Linked DNA regions of Homo sapiens: all the other regions are linked to region 3. The links are contacts of gene promoters, found by promoter capture Hi-C in blood cells and fetal thymus (Javierre and others, 2016). All regions are on one chromosome and are shown on one strand. Each heading gives the region's core, a stretch centred on a gene start or on the middle of the fragment in contact. The rest is flanking DNA. Distances are from core to core; before and after follow the strand shown. Region 1 holds the start of JADE1 (jade family PHD finger 1). Region 2 overlaps JADE1 (jade family PHD finger 1). Region 3 holds the start of PGRMC2 (progesterone receptor membrane component 2).

Region 1 (2,700 bases), core at 73-2,572, 520 kb after region 3:
AGTTGGGCTGGTGTGGGATTACATGAAATCAAACCTGATATATTCAGAAAGATTCTTCCGGTGGACACATATGCCTTTTGGGTTCGATATTCAATTTTGTAATTAGTGATCACTGTTCCTATTTATTTATTTATTTATTTGAGACGGAGTTTCGCTCTTATTGCCCAGGCTGGACCACAATGGCGCATTATCGGCTCATCACAACCTCCACCTCCCGGGTTCAAGCGATTCTCCTGCCTCAGCCTCCCCAGTAGCTGGGGTTACAGGCATGTACCACCATGCCCGGCTAATTTTGTATTTTTTAGTAGAGACAGGGTTTATCCATGTTGGTCAGGCTGGTCTTGAACTCCCGACCTCAGGTGATCCGCCCACCTAGGCCTCCCAAAGTGCTGGGATTACAGGCGTGAGCCACCGCGCCCGGCCTGAATGGGAGTTTTTAATCCGTACTTTTTTCTTATTGAAGTTGAATGTCATATACCCCTCTATTTCCCTAGATGAATCCATGAAAGAAGTATGTTGCCCTCTATATGAAAAAGCAAGCTTGTCTTCTGCAGAAAATCAGTAACCACTCCTTTTTACACATAAATACCCCCAAATGAATCTCCGATGACTGATCTGATACTAGTCTGCAATTCTAGTTTTAGCATTAGGCTCACTCCTCATATTTGGGAGAAGATGTCCAATTCTGTAGTAATGTGTAACATAAAGTGGTGTCAATTTATAAATAATATCTTCTAATGAATTAATGCTCATTTGCAATGATCACTTCCATACAAATTTAGGTAAAGATGTTATTCAGAATTGGATTCTCTCTATTTAAAAATGTCATCCTAATGTGCAACTCCCTAAAACTGTTACTACAAACAACTATTTTGCCACTCAGCCTAAAAATAAAACCTTTCACCCAAATGACACATCTTAATAGCCATATTTTAATCTACGTAATTTTAAACTATTCTGAAAGAATCCATTTCTAGATGTCAGACAAGAGTTGAAACTGGGACAGCAGTTTGAAGGGGCTAATTTAAAAACCCACTTGCTTGGAGACACCTCAAGAATTTCTAGGCTCACAAGGTGGGTGAAGTAAGGAAAGAGACTAAGAGCTGAACAGTGCCGTTCTTTGCGAGCCCCCACTGGCGCAGGCTGAGCCGGCTGCGGCTAGGGCTGCGAAGAGTTAACGAGGGACCGAGCCCCAGCGCCGCGGGCTCCCCGCATGCTCCCTCCGCCCTCCCGTCCCCACCCTCTCGTTTTGGCAAGGGATTAAAGTGCTCCCCCCTGTGGCAGCAGTGACCCAGAAATGAGTTTGATTCACATAGTCCTTCCTCCATAACAAGCCAAACGCCAGACCGAGAGTGCCTCCGTGCGCGAGTGCCCGGTGTGTGCGCGCCGGCGAGAGCAGGGGCCCGCCCGGCTCCCCGCCCGCCGCGGCCCGAACTCATGCAGCTCCGAGCGAGCGAGCGGCGCCCAGCCCAGCGCCTCGGCCGAACCCCTCCGCAGCAGGTACGCGCGCGGGCCGCGGGGGGCGCGCGGGGTGGGCGCGCCGCGCGTGTGTCCGCGCGTGTCCGCGTGTGGGTCCGTGTGCGCGTCCCGGTCCCGCGGCGGCGACGGCGGCGGCGGCGGCGGCGGCTGCAGGACGAGCCGAGAGGCTCAGCCATATTTGATGGTTTTGTTGCTTTGCTCGGGAGTTCTCGGGAGTAATTTAATGCCGAAGGTCGCTGCCTAGTGGAAATAATATAATACGTCATTAATATGGCGCCAAAAGATTGGGTTCTCGATCTGTAGCGAGGAGGGAGGGAGGCAGCCGCTGAGCGCAGCGTTACTATCCCACCAGTAACTTGGGCATTGCCGGGGCGGGGGCCGGAGGAGGAGGAGAGGATGATTTTTGGATCCTGAGAATTGATCTATGTTGGATCAGTAAGTTTTATTATGATTTTTTTTTTCAAATTTGGGGGGCTGAAGACTTAGAGCTATTTCTTCTTTTGGATTTGCGAAGAACATGCGGTTTTCAGGTGAATCATCAATTAAACGCGTTTAGGAGCAGAAGCCCAGTTTAAGTTGGCTTTAGTTTATAGGTTTTTTTTTTTTTTTTTTTTTTTTAGAAAGCCAAAGTGCATTAGGCTGCATGAAAGTGGAAAGCATAGTAGCAACTTGGTAGACAGATGGCAATGGCAGAACGCAGGTTCGCGTACATATATGAATCCAGAGTGTGTGAGACCGTGTGTGTGGTGGGACTGTATTTGTCCAAACATAGGTGTGCGTAGGTACATCTGTGTGTGGTGGCCGCAGCCCTGGCTCTTGTCACCGCGTCACCACATGTCCAAAATATTCATTGCATCAATTCAAGGGCAGTGAGAGGGGGGTGGGGGTGGGGGTGGAGGGACAGTTTGGCAATTAGATTCTTCCGAACTGGGCTTCCAGTGATCAGATCTTTTACTTACAGCGCGACTGCTTGTAAAGTGTAAAACCCCTTAATCGATGAAATGGGGTAGGAGTTGGCGTTGGTAGAGCAAAGTACCGATTAATCGTGAACTTAAAGGGGATTGCAAATTGCAACCTTTGGCACCATCTGCAAATTGTGGGGGTGGGGTCTCTTGGTCTCCTTGCTTCCTTAAATGAACGTGTAGTGTGTACCCCGGGACTGCAAGTTGCAGAGCCCTTCAGTGCACGTGTCTTGTGCCTGTGAGTCTGTGTTTGCGAGTT
Region 2 (2,833 bases), core at 236-2,735, 540 kb after region 3:
TAGTTGAAGGGCAAACCCACAGGGCATATGGGGACTTCAGAGAGTCATAACATTATGAATCAGTAAACCTTGGCAATTGGCTATAAGGTGAGAATGGATGTGTATGAAGATGCTACCCAGAGTAATATGCTGTGTTACACATATGTTGGTAAGTACGGTGCTCTGCCCCAAACATGCCCCTTTTTCTGGCTACCTCCTCTTTGTTCTTCAGGACTCAGCTCAGTCTTACCAGCCTCCTCTGACTCTTATCCACCTTTTGTATTCCTGTAGAACTCCGCATTTACCACTGTCAGGCACAAACAGTAGTGAATTTCCGTTGTTTTCCTGTCTGCCCAACTAGGCCAGAAGCTCTGTGAGGTCAGGGTTAGTAATTTTCATCCAGCACCTCCTAATATATGAGATATTCAAATGTTTGTCGGCTGCATTATGTGCCATTATATCTTCTTGCTACTTTGGGGTGTTGTGAGTAGCCATTTTAATTGATTATTACTTATCCTACTACTGTCTAGATTAGTAATTAGCCATTGCCCTGAGAGTCAGGAAAGGTGATGATGCAGATGCTGGCTTTTAGTGGGGCAGATGTTTGCAGCATACAACCACTGTATTGTGTAGCTGAAAGATAGTAACATGTATTTTGATTTTCTGATACAGTAAGTCATCCTGGGTGAGATAAATCAGCTTGATGTCAAGGTTTAAGTACTTTAGAGCCACAGAGGAGGAAATTCTGCTGAGCACTAACCCCCATACTGTGCCAAGTTCCCTGGAGAAGCAAATACAGCACTCTCAAACCCTCATTACTCAAGATCTTCAGCGGATGAAAATGGATTTCATTAGAAAGAAAATACTATTTTTACTCTTCTTTTACTTGAATAATTTTGCTTAAGAGAGTATTTATGTGTGTTTAGGTGCATCATTGTATTTTGGCCAATGCTTGCGTTCTTTATTTAGTGACTGTTGAAGTGCTTCCTCAGGGAGTTGTGTTTGAAAGCTGGAAAGTAAGCATTTTGATTCAAAAAGATTCTTAAAAGCTACTCTGTTAGGTGAATCTAATTTTTAAATTTTTTTATAGAGATAGGGGTCTCCCTGTGTTGCCCACTCCGGTCTCAACTCCTAGGTTCAAGCAGTCCTCCTGCCCTGGCGTCCCAAAGTTCTAGGATTACACATGTGAGCCACCGCGACCAGCCTAGTACTAATTTTTTTTAGCACTCTTTTGTAATGTTGGCTTTGGGGAGCTGAAGCTGTTAGGAGTGAGTGGTCTTCTGCCTTTCCCTTTTCCCTTTTACCTCTTGCTGGATCCTGAGGGGACCCAGAGGTGCATTCTCTAGAAGGTTGGAGAGCTTACCTGTCTGCAGTTGGTGTTTTTGGCACACACAGGGCAGAGAAAACAGTTGAATAGGGAGTGGACCACTGGTGTTTCTTGGTTATGGAACCTGAGGGCTGGAGTGGGCTTACCCCAGGCCAAGTTGCAGATTGCCTGGTTATGGGTGAGTGGGGCTTTTGGAAAAGGGATGGAGTGGGTTTTAGGACTTGACTATGCCTACAGCATGAAACCCCAGCTTGTAAAGCGTGTCCATAATATAGCTCATGACCCATACTGATCAGGACTTATGTTCAGCCTTTCTCTTGGTACATCATTTTAATGGCTTTTGAAGAATCAATTGATAAACAAAAACTTTAACTGGGTGAGTTTCTCAGGAAGAAAATATAAAATATTGCAATTATAGATTAGGGACCTAAATATTTGGATGAATTGTGTAGATCCATTTTTTAAGTGTAGTATAGGAAAAACTTTTCATCTACTTTTTTAGGTTCAGTTCATGCGAGTCTGAATTAAATGACAAAAGACATTACAGGAGAAAAGGCAAACTTCACTGATGTTGATATTTTTATGTGCCAGATGTGGGTAAAGGGAAGGAGACTTCACCGAAGAGAAAAAACCCAAGAAGAGTTAGACCTGAAGGCTTATATACAATTTTAACAGAGGGTGATAAATTGTGAAGTGACTAGTCAAAGGAAAAGGGAGTTTAGGCTTTTTTGACTGCTCTTTTGTAGGCCTTTTTAGAGTGGAGCTTTGGTTTTTTAAAATTGCTTTCTTGTTCTATCACAGTGGTTCTCCACATTTTTCTTTTTTTTTCAAGACAGAATCTCACTGTGTCACATAGGCTGGAGTGCAGTGGTGTGATCTCCACTCATTCCAACCTCCGCCTCCCGGGTTTAAGTGATTCTCCTGCTTGAGCCTCCTGAGTAGCTGGGATTACAGATGCGCGCCACCACGCACGGCTAATTTTTGTATTTTTAGTAGAGGCAGGGTTTCACCGTGTTGGTCAGGCTGGTCTCGAACTGCTGACCTCGTGATCCTCCCACCTCGGCCTCCCAAAGTGCAGGGATTACAGGTATGAGCCACCACACCCAGCCCGGTTTTCCACATTTTTTTCTCCACACCATTCCTATGTGCCCCACTTCTATTGTTGTGTGTATGTGTGTGTGTGTATGTTGAGACAGGGTCTCTGTCGCCCAGGCTGGAGTGCAGTGGTGTGATCTCGGCTCACTGCAACCTCCGCCTCCTGAGTTCAAGCGATTCTCCTGCCTCAGCCTCCTAAGTAGCTGGGATTACAGACACCTGCCACCACGCCCGGCTAATTTTTATATTTTTAGTAGAGACGGAGTTTCACCATGTTGGCCAGGCTGGTCTCCAACTCCTGACCTCAAGTGATCCTCCCGTCTTTGCTTCCCAAAGTGCTGGGATTACAGGGGTGAGCCACCATGCCCAGCCACATTTGCATTGTTAACACCACATCATACATATTGTGATTCCCAATGAGGAGGAGGTTGG
Region 3 (2,975 bases), core at 130-2,629:
CTGAAAACAAAGTTCTCTCAAAACAAAGTTCTAAAAATCTTTAACTTGCATAACTGGCACATGGGGGTATAAATCTACAACTCTTCTAAGTTTTTTCTCCTTAGTTCTGCTAAGTGAAAACACAAGTCATTATCAACGTGTACTTGAAAAGAGAAAAAAAAAGAAAAAAGAAACCAGAGACACGCCTGCTGGGTATAGGAGCTCCACCCCCAAAACTCAAGGTGAATATCCTTACCAGTCTTTAATAAGCTCTGCATTCTGGTCTGTTCTCATCCCACATACCTTGTTAATCATGGAAAGCAACTCCGAACTAAAACTGGTTTAAAGAGAGTCCGAGGTGTTGCTTATACGTCTGGACTTCAGAGACTGGAGGGTTGGGACTTTACATGCCCCTAAACGTGGCCTTACGGAGTAATACAGCGAGGGAAAAAAGGAGATCAGTGGCAAAAAAAAAAAAAAAGGGGGCAAGGAAAAGAAAACGGTGAATTACAGAGCCCAAAACTTTAGTTTAGGTCCCAACTTCAGAAATCTCCCTTCCCTGGTGCCCCATCCATCCCAGGAATCAGGAGACTCAAAAAAGGTTAAGGGCCAGCGTTGACCTGTGACAACTAAAACGATTTTGAAAAATCCAGCCAAAGAAACAAAAAAAAAAGGCTGCGAGGAGAAATGGGATGGAAGAAAGATGAATGCTGAGAGCTGGTCTCTGGGGCGCCACCGGGGACCCTGGTTTCGGGGGAAGAACTGGAGGTGCCCGTAGCTGCGGGGGGACGGTGTGTGTGTAGGGGCGGGATGGGCCGTCCCAGGTGCGGCGGCCGAGGCGCGGGGGTCCCGGAGACGAGAAGGCTGGGCAAACTAACCCGGTGCCCAGAGGCCTCCCTGTCCGAAGGGGGTTGTGCTTCAGCTGCAGGGGGTCCTTCCCCTCCCCTTCCAACTCCTCACCCGGGCCGTAGAACTTGCTGCCTTTGGTCACGTCGAAGACTTTCCCATTGACCGCGAGCAGGATGCGCGGGTTGCGGGAGCCGTCGTACTGGCGCAGCTGCTCCAAGCTGAAGTCCCGCTTCTTCATGCGAGGCAGAGAGGTGGCGGGGCTCTCCTCGCCCGCCCCGGCCCCGGCCCCCAGACCCCGCCGCCCCCAGCGCACCCACAGCCGGTAGGCCCCCAGCAGCACCAGAGCCACCAGCGCCACGTTCAGCAGCATTTCCCCGCCCCCCGTCAGAAGCGCCAACGCCGCCGCCGCCCAGCCTCCCCCTTCCGCTGCCGCTCCCGCGTCGCCTGGACTCTCGCTGCCGCCGTCGTTGCTGCTCTCGCTGCCACTCCCCAGGGTGCCTAGCTTCACGTCCCCATCACCAGCCGCCATCACTGCCCGCCAGCGCCTTCCTCCTCCTCCCCGCCCCCTGCCCTCCCCAACCCCACGGCCGGCCCCGCCCATCTGGGGGCCTCTCAGCCAATAACGTGAGAAGAGGGGGCGGGGTCAGGCCGGCTCCTGATTGGGTGTTGACGGGGTAACGTTGTCTCGGATCTCCCGCCCCCTCCCTTCTTTCGCTGGCCGCGCACGCGTGCAACGCCCCGCCCACCTCGCCCCACACTTCCCTGCTCTCACTCCAAGCCTCCGCTAGGTTAAGTAGACGAGCCGGGCGGGTCTGAAGAAAAGATGCTACGACGGCCGCGCGGACGCTCATGGGCGGGGCGAGACCACAGCGCGTGCGCGGGCTCCTGAGCGCCACGCGCTCGCCTTTCGTTCGTAACCCCTGCGGGAGGCACGCCCCGCCCAGTCTCCAGGCTCTGCGCGTGCGCCCTGGAATCGCTTCCCTTCCTAGGCCTGCGTTCGCGTCCGCAAACTCCCGCCTCCTTGCGCTCCCCCCGCCCGGGAGCTTCACGTGCGCCTTGGCGGCCGCGGGGGCAGGTCCGGGCTGGACGCCTGGCGGAGGACGCGGGCAGGTGGCTTGTGGGAGGCTGGGGCATAGTTGAGCTGCAAGGCGCAAACCGATGAGGGGCGTCTGCTTTTCACCAGGGCGCCGTCGCTTTTGTCGGGAAACCGGCAGCGTAGGCGCGCAGACCGGGAAGCGGCAAGAAGATTTGGCCACGAGCTGGGGTCTTCCTGGAACGGAGAGAAAGCACGGAACCCGCACCGGGCTTCTCTGGCATCGGCAGTCTACGTGCTCCTCGCGCTGGCACCGAGCAGCCACTCCCCGCTGGGTTTGGCAAAGGCTGCTCTTGTAGAATTTTAAAGGATTTAGAGTCTCATTATTCCTTGAATCATAACTTCTGCGGCCGTAGGGAAGTGGACAGGTTGAGGTGGTCTTTCTATTCGTCATTCACTCTTATTTGCAGGTTCTGTTTCATGTACTTGGACGTCTTTTAGCCTCTCACACCTTGAAATTCTAGTGTGAAAAAGTGACCTCTGAAGTCTCACGCACTCAACTCGTTTGACGAACTCGTTTGACGTGTTCTCTCTTGCCCTTTGTTGTCTGTTGTCTTGAGTCTCATAGAATAGGTTTGAACCTTTCACTGTCGGTTTTGTAGGAGTCACTGAGGATATTGACGAGGCAAGTGACAGGGTCGACACTCTTGTAGAGAGGCTGTATAGCAACCAGGTGTCTGAAGGATTAGAGGCTGGGGAAAGAGTGGGAAAGCAGTTAGTAGGCTAGGGTATTTGTGCGTGAGGTGAGGAGACTCAGAGCTAGGGGAGACATTAGAGCAGGGGTTGGCAAACATTTTTTGTAAAGGGCCCGATCATATTTTAAGTCTCTGCCTTAACTACTCAGCTCTACCTTGTAACGAGAAAGCAGCCATAGACAATACTTGAATGAGTGTAGCTGTCTTCAGTAAAACTATGGACATTGAATTTTTAATATAATTTCAGGTATGAAATATTCTTTTGATTTTTAAGAAAATCATTGAAATATGTAAATTTTTTTTTTTTTAGTTCTGGAGAGGTGCAAAAACAACTTATAAGCCATATTGCTGAGCCCTGC

Evidence for each region. The method cuts DNA at HindIII sites, captures the fragments that hold promoters and counts their contacts. A CHiCAGO score of 5 or more calls a contact.
Region 1: the fragment with the promoter of JADE1 here is called in contact with the fragment with the promoter of PGRMC2 in region 3 in 17 of 17 cell types (naive CD4 T cells, fetal thymus, M1 macrophages and 14 more); the score reaches 25.4 in naive CD4 T cells.
Region 2: a fragment that was not itself captured here is called in contact with the fragment with the promoter of PGRMC2 in region 3 in 17 of 17 cell types (total B cells, fetal thymus, naive B cells and 14 more); the score reaches 14.0 in total B cells.

What each region holds. Positions count from the first base shown.
Region 1 is chr4:128,808,378-128,811,077 of GRCh38, forward strand. JADE1 (jade family PHD finger 1) reads left to right here and starts at 1,323. Exons shown (of 11, transcript NM_199320.4): 1 at 1,323-1,500. RefSeq lists silencers at 1,146-1,625, 2,136-2,255 and an enhancer at 1,726-1,835. The HindIII fragment of the contact is 6,052 bases long and covers 539-2,700 here.
Region 2 is chr4:128,827,761-128,830,593 of GRCh38, forward strand. The region is part of intron 1 of JADE1 (jade family PHD finger 1); the gene reads left to right. Among named protein-coding and RNA genes, the nearest start is that of JADE1, 19 kb to the left of the region's middle. The HindIII fragment of the contact is 3,004 bases long and covers 1-2,833 here.
Region 3 is chr4:128,286,434-128,289,408 of GRCh38, forward strand. It overlaps PGRMC2 (progesterone receptor membrane component 2), which reads right to left and starts at 1,380. Exons shown (of 3, transcript NM_006320.6): 1 at 940-1,380. The coding sequence starts at 1,357. RefSeq lists silencers at 1,020-1,079, 1,260-1,309, 1,320-1,499, 1,820-2,009, 2,381-2,675. The HindIII fragment of the contact is 4,970 bases long and covers 1-2,975 here.